2 separate regions of the Homo sapiens genome follow, and region 1 is linked to region 2. Evidence: promoter capture Hi-C in human tissues and cell types (Jung and others, 2019). All regions are on one chromosome and are shown on one strand. Each heading gives the region's core, a stretch centred on a gene start or on the middle of the fragment in contact. The rest is flanking DNA. Distances are from core to core; before and after follow the strand shown. Region 1 has its middle 2.1 kb from the start of LINC01718. Region 2 holds the start of CDH4 (cadherin 4).

Evidence for each region. Contacts are between HindIII fragments. The study calls those that stand out against the background at their distance.
Region 1: a contact is called between a fragment that was not itself captured here and the fragment with the promoter of CDH4 in region 2, in 2 of the 25 tissues and cell types used here (H1 embryonic stem cells and liver).

What each region holds. Positions count from the first base shown.
Region 1 is chr20:61,075,165-61,078,676 of GRCh38, reverse strand. No RefSeq gene overlaps it. Among named protein-coding and RNA genes, the nearest start is that of LINC01718, 2.1 kb to the left of the region's middle. The HindIII fragment of the contact is 4,888 bases long and covers 1-3,512 here.
Region 2 is chr20:61,250,435-61,254,172 of GRCh38, reverse strand. CDH4 (cadherin 4) reads right to left here and starts at 1,912. Exons shown (of 16, transcript NM_001794.5): 1 at 1,603-1,912. The coding sequence starts at 1,659. The HindIII fragment of the contact is 10,940 bases long and covers 1-3,738 here.

The DNA of each region.
Region 1 (3,512 bases), core at 366-2,865, 180 kb after region 2:
GAAATGTAGCAGATAACAGAACAGAAGGATATTAAATGACTTTTAATGAAAGGATCACCCTGAAAAAATACAACTCGTAGAGCAAAGTATTTTAATTATTTTATTACAGGAAGAAAGCAAATTAGCTGTCACCCATAAATAAACACAATCCCCATATTAGAGTGAATTTTGAGAAGAAAGTTTTCAATTGAGACTGACTGAATAGAAGGCCCATGTTTGTACATGTATTTACATGTAAGTTGAACATTCTTCATTGACAGACCAGGTTGTCAATTGATGTTTCAATCTAGCATCAGTTTAGTGTTAGGTATAAACAAAAGCCTTTAAAAAGTGAGAAGTACGTTTTTGGAGATCTTGATGCTTCCATTCAAAACATCTCCAATGAAAAACGCCTGTCCCATCTCAAATTCCAATTTCCTTTTAAATTGTAAAGAGCTAGCTTGAATACTGGTTTCAGTTAGCATGGGGCCATCTATTTTGGATTTTATGTTGTACATTCTTTCTGAATCAGAGAATAATCTGTTATTCTAAAGATATATTCCATATTTGTTAACCATCCAAGTTTAGACCCATCTGTATCAGTTAGCAGTGCTGTAATAATGCTGAGTAACAAATCTTTCCATAACCCAGAGGCTGAAAACAACAGACATTTCTCACTTATGAGCCAGTAAGAGAGTTGCATGGCACCACGGCTGGGCTAGGTTGGGCTCTGGACTCCCAGCTCCTGGCTCTAGGTTCCAGGCTCCAGGTTGTGAATTGGGTTGAGTTCTGCTCCTTGAGCCTCCCATCATCCTTGAATTAGTGGCTACCCAGGGCATGGTTTTTTGTGGTAACAGTAGGAACACAACAGGCCATGAGGAAGCACCAGATGCCACCTAGGCTTGGCTCAGGATTGGCATGTTGTCTATGCTTATGTTCCATTGGCCTGAACAAGCTACTTATCCAAGCCCTACTTCAGTGAGATGAGGCAAGACTTCAGTGGGATGAGGGAAGTGGCCCGGGGAAGAAGGGAGGGAAGATTTTCTGTATTGTAACCCAGCACATGGTGCCATCTGACCAGAGGCTGCTCCATCCACTTTGGACCCTGAGGAGGAGGCATCTTACAGCAGCAAGAGCCTGGAATGGGAAGCAGTGGAATTTCAACTCTGTTCATCACTTCTCAGCCACGGGACATTGGGCAAGCCTCTGAGCCCCAGCACCTTCATCTGCAAGGCAGTTGCTGTGGGGTATGTGGGAGCACAGCCTTGGAAGCCTGGAAGACACGCATCTGAGTTCTGGTATTTGCCACCTGCTGGTTGTACATTCCTCGATGTTCAGTTTCCTTATCGTGAAATGGGGATAAGGCCACCTCTCTTCCTTGTTGGAAGTCCAGTGCAACTCCCTGTTGGGAGCGGGGGGAGATATGGCATAGGGACTATCAGATCAAATAAGCAAACAAAAGTGAAGTATGTAACACCTTGACTGGCATGCCATCAGTGTTTATACAATGTCCACAATTTTATTATTTATAAGTATATGGTGATCCCCAGAAAGATATGTGTGCTAATACCAAGAACTTGTAAATGTGACCTTATTTGGAAAAAGAGGTTTTGCAGAGGTGATTAAGTTAAGGATCTTGATATGAGATCATCCTGTATCCTCCAGGTGGACCCTAAATCCAATGACAAGTATCCTTAAATAGACAGGGCACGGTGGCTCACACCTTTAATCCCAGCATGTTGGAAGGCTAAGGCAGGAAGATTTCTTAAGCCCCAGAGCTTGAGGTTAGCTGGGGCAATATAGCGAGACCCCATCTTTAAAAGAAAAAAAATTAGCTGGGCATGGTGGCATGCGTCTGTAGTCCCAGCTGCTTGGGAGGCTGAGGTAGGAGGATCACCTGAGCCTGGGAGTTTGAGGCTGCAGTAAGCCATGACTGCATCTGGGAGTTTGAGGCTGCAATGAGCTGGACTGCACTCCAGCCTGGGTGACAGAGCAGAACTGTGTCTCAAAAAAATAAAAAAATAAAAGTAGACACACAGAGCAGAGACAGGGAAAGAAGAGGAAAAAACCATGTGAAGTGGAGGCAGAGATTGGAGTGATGTGTCCAAGCCAAGGAACACCAAGAGCCATCGGTGGTAGAAGAGGCCAGGAAGGGTCCTCCTGCAGAGCCTCTGTGGGGAGGATGGCCCTGCTGATACCTTGATTTCAGACTTCTAGCCTCCAGAATGCGGAGGGAATATACCTCCCCATTGTGGTCATTTGTTACGGAAGCTCCATGAGACTTCTACACACGGGTTGCTGTGCAGGGCATAGCCTCATGTGTGTGGCTGAATGTCCTGGTTGTGACTCCAGTTTGTACCTGGGGTTCGAGTTAGGCCCCTCAATCACAGCAGTTACAGAGTAGAGGAGGGTCTTATACCTTGAACCAGACTGCTCCGGCCACCCAGGAGAGCAGCCAGTCTATACAAGGAGCCAGAGCAGGCAGAGCTCGCTATGGGTGAGGAAGGCTGGATGGGGCTAGGCAGGGGGGCTGGGGAAAGGGCTCAATGGGGAGGTGATGAGTGAGCAGAGAACTGAATGAGGTGACAGGAATGTCGGGGTCAGAAAGCACTCCAGATATGGCAGGTGCTGGGCCCTGGGCAGACGTGTGAAAGAACCAGCAAAGAAGCTGTGGGCACAAAGCTTTGAACCTAGCAAATAAGAGAAACATCATGCACACCAGACACTGTGATGAGCAGGCTCAGCTTGAGTCAGGGAGAGTCACCTCCTGCACGATGTCCTGGAACCCACTCACGGAGCCAGAGGATGAGGGGGTCTGCTTTCCCGGGTGCCAGCCATCCTCCACGAGTTCTCCTTCTCCTCCCCTTCTCCTTCTTCCCCCTTCACCATGTGCGGTGTGACTTTTCAGATAAATGAAACAAAATTGCCCCTTTTAAAGATCTACTAAGAGCCTCCATCTCCTGGCTCTCTCAGCTTTTTTTCTTGCTACTTGAAAAAAGAAGGGGCCAGGTTGAGAGGAGCTGTGCAAATGAATATGAAGCCCACTTCCTTCCAGCTGTGGCTGAGAGATGGCTCTTCTCCCCCTCTCATTATTGAAGGCCGAATGGAGGCTCTTGGAGGCCTGTACCTTTCAGAGCTCATAAGCCTAGCAGCTGTGTGGAGAGGGAGCCAGGCCTTTCCAGGGTTGTGTCCTGTCCAGTCTGGGCAGTGTGAGGAGTGGTCCAAAGGATGCCTGGCCAGGGTCGCTGGGCCCTGATGGTAAGTCAAAATCAATGGCCCATGCAAGCAAGGGGTGGTGAGATGGCCTTTGTATCAGTCCATTTTCACACTGCTATAAAGACATACCCAAGACTGGGTCATTTATAAAGAAAAGACTAACAGTTCCACAGCATTGGGTTTGCCTCAGGAAACTTACGATCTTGTCGGAAGGGGAAGAGGCATGTCTTACAAGGCAGCAGGCAAGAGAAGTGTGTATGAGTGAAGGGGAAAGATCCCCTTATAAAACCATCAGATCTCTTGAAAACTCACTCACT
Region 2 (3,738 bases), core at 663-3,162:
CCAGGCAGGGAGACGGCTCCCCTAACTGACCGGAAAGGGGGTCTCCTCCTGTCCTCCGGAGCTCGCTCGCCTTTCCTGCTCAGTGGGGAAGTCTAGAGCCCATGGCACAGGGCCAGGGAAGGATGGGGTGGACGACAGGGCCCTCCGACCAAGCTTCTGGGAGGGGGCGTGACAGGCAGGAGGAGGTGGTGGAGGGAGAGGCAGTGTGTGCAAGCGGGAAGCCAGCCCCGCTGAAGGAGCAGGAGCACAGCGGTGCTTGGCTCCCCGGCGAGCGCAGGAAGCCTCGGGTGCAGCCCGCACCGGGCAGTGGCGCCTCCCGCCCGCCGCCTCCTCCAGCTCCGCGCGCTGCCGTCGCCCGCCCATGCTTCGACTCCGGAGGCCGCCCCCAGCCCGGAGCTCCAGGCTTCCCGACGCCGGCACCGCGGAGGGCGCCCCTCTACCCCCAGCACCGAGGGAGGAGAGCGGGACGCAGGGTCATTCCTTACGAAAAGCTCTAAACCGCGGCTTTCTTCATCGGCCACGAAGCTCCAAATCGCACCCGCAGCCCGGTGGGAGGCTCAACTCGCCCAGGAAAGTTTCCGCCCGCCCGAAGCGTGTGCCCAGCGCGTCCCCCAGCGCCCCGCGGCCTCGGAGCGGGCCTCCCGCCGCTGGCACTTGTTTATTTCCGAGGTTACAACAGCGCTGCCCGGGAGAAGGCAGCGAGGCCGATCGGCCACGAGAGGGGGTTCCTGCAACTCCCGCCGCCCCTCCGCCTCCGCCCAGGGGCGCCCCCGGAGCCGCCGCGCTCTCTGCCCCCGCGGGCCGCGCACCTCGCCAGGCGCAGAGCAAAGCTGGCAATCCGGCCCGCGGGGCTCTGCAGAGGCAGCGGGAGACCCGCTCGCCCTCCCGGGGCGCCCTCCCGCGCCGCGCCCGCCCGGCGTCCGGCTTCCCGGCCCAAGCCCGGCCCAGCTCCCAGCCCCCGGGGCCCCGCCGGACACGCAGGCTCCAGCCCCGCCGAGGGCTCGGGGGTGAGAGTGCCCCGCAGTCCTACCCCGCCGCCCACCCGCAGCGCGGGTCCTGCCGGCACCCACAGAACTGAGCGGCGCCGCTAGACGGACCCCCAGGCCTTGGGCAGGAGAGGTCGGGCAGGCGCCCCGCACTCGCGGATCCCTGGCCCGCAGCCGCCGGGCGCCCCACGCCTTCAGCCACGGCCGGGGCTGGGCTCGGCAACTCCCGCGGCGCGCGGCTCCCGGGCGATGGAGGGCGCGCCGGCTCCGCCAGTGGAAGCCTGCCCCATGCAGGCAAGCCGAGCTCCGGGTAGCGGCTACGGGCTTTGGGCGTTCGAGGGAGGCTCGGCGGGTCCGGTGCAGGCGGAGCTCCCCGGGTCCTCCACCGAGCCCCACTCCCACCCTGCTCCGCCGCTCCCCGCTGCCCAGGCGGCTTCCCGCTCCTGCCGACCGCAGGCAGCTTCGCCGAGCGCGGGCGCCGGGCTGGATGCAGCGGGGAGCGCGGCGGGGGAGCCCGGGAGAGCCCCGCCGGGTGTGTGAGCGCCCCGCGGGATCCGGGGACGACCTCCCGCTGCCCGGGGCTTCCGAACGGCGGGGGCGGGAGGCGGCAACTTACCCGGAGCGCGCCGGAGAGCGAGAGCAGCAGAAGGAGCACGCCGGCGCCCGCGGTCATCTTCCCCGCCGCCCGCCCGGTGCCCGGCACCGGGAGCCCGCTCCCTGCCGCCGCCGCCGCCGCCGCCGCCGAGACCACCGCCGCCGCTCCGATCGCCGCCGCCGCCGCCGCTCCCCCGCGCCTGCCCGGAGCCTCCAGCCCCGCTGCGCCCGCCGCGCTCGCCGCCCCGGCTCCGGGAGCCAGGCCAAGTCCGGCCGGCGGCGCGTTCCCTCGGGCCGGTGCGTCCGCCGGCCTCGCAGCCGCCCGCGCCTCTGTTCCGCGCGCTCGGAGCTGCAGGTGAAGCCGCGGCCGCCCCGCCGAGGCCCCGCCCCGCCGCCCGGCCCCTGCGCTCGCTCTGCCGACGCGGGCCTTAAAGGCGCAGAGCCCGCGCCCGCGCCCCCCGCGCCGCACCAGCCCAGCCTCTGCCCTCCTGGACGTCTGGAGCCGCCCGGTTGCGGCCGAAGAGGCCAAGGACGCTCGTTTTCCAGGGGAAAAAGGCGCGGGTGTGGAGACTGAAGACAGCGCTGGGGTTTCCGCCCCCACACCCGGGGCACCCTTTCTGGATGGGGCGGTCCCGCCGCGGTCTTAGTCCGACTTCCCGCCCGGGCCCGCGGTGGGAGTGTGCACTTCCATTCTGTCCTTTTATTTTTCAGGTGTCTCCTTGCTAACTCCCCTGACCCGGGCTTGAACCCAGGTCGGGCAGCTCAGGGGTGAGAGTTTCCACCTGGAGCAGATGAGCAGAGGGCCACGCTGAGATTTCAGCCTGTGGGGCTTTGCAGACCCTCCCGCTCCTAGGAAAACTCAAAGCCCTGGCCTGGGCTAGGGATGTACCCTAGGATTGGGGACGGTAGTAATTCCTGTGTGTGCATCAAAACACCCTGTTAGGCCTCAGAAGCCAAGAAAGAAATTAGAAGCTCCAAGAAAGAAAGAAGTGCCCAGACAGGAGCTGTCAGGAGTGTCTGCGCCGACAGGCTGGGCCAGCTCCAGCTCCCTTTGCCCTGCATGGGTGATGGCTGAACTGGGGGGCACTTCTTTAAGGGTTATCAGGTAAAATATATGTACAGGTCGGACAGTGAGTAAATGTTTCTGCACTTTTCCTTTTGGCTTGGAGATTTAAAGAAACGCGGTTTTGTTTGTTCAGATACATCGAATTTTCTTTGTCTGGGGTTTCAGGGACTCTGTGTCCAGAATACATTAGTTCTGGTTTAAGAAATAGGTTGCAAAGGAGAGGGTGGAAGATTGAGTGACACTGTTGAGCTCCAAGATCAGAGTCCACTTGGGCAAGCCAGTAGAGAAAGCTACAGAGCAGCCGCTTCCCTCTCTCCCTCCCAGAACCCCCACCCTTGGGGGCAGGGTGGTCTCCCGGTTAGAGCTCTGCCTTACGCTTAAGGAAACCAGATTTTAGATAACCCCAGAGGACCAGAGTAAGCACTACATCCGAGAGCACAAGGCGAGATTCGGTTTTGCAACTTAACTATGGAACTAGTCAGGAGACACAAAATCTGCCCCAGCCTGGACTCCTATCAGTTATGGCCTTGTCCCACTCCCCACCTAGCCGAAGAAGGAGAGGTTACCAGTTGACATGGCTGGAGGTTTAGACTCACTCGAAGGTCCTGCGTAGCCAGTGAGGTTTCATGAACAGATCCATCCAAAATCCTCATGGACAGAGAATTCCATTCCTCGGCCATGTGCCCGTCCTTTGGGAAGACGCCCCCTCTGCTTTCCTCCTTATTCAAGGTGCTTCACCACTGCTCGAGCGACATCAGAAGCTGTCCAAGACTGCTTTAGACACCAAGACAGCTCTCTTGTCTTGTGTCCCTGGTCTATTTTCTTAAAATATCTGTCGCTGGGGATACACCTTTGTCTGCAGGAGGCCTGAGCATTATGCGAGTTATTTCTTTGGAGAGGCATCACAGACCCCCGCATTTGCTCCAACGTGCTCTGCGAAACTGTTGAAGCGCTGAGGAGCGCGCCAATTTGAAAAAGAAAAGGTATGAGTGTGTGGCAGGGAGACTGGGGTCCAGGAGCAGGTGGGTCCTGAACTCCAAACACTGTGTTAAGCACATCTCCCTCTACTACTGAATGAATCTTGAGTCTACT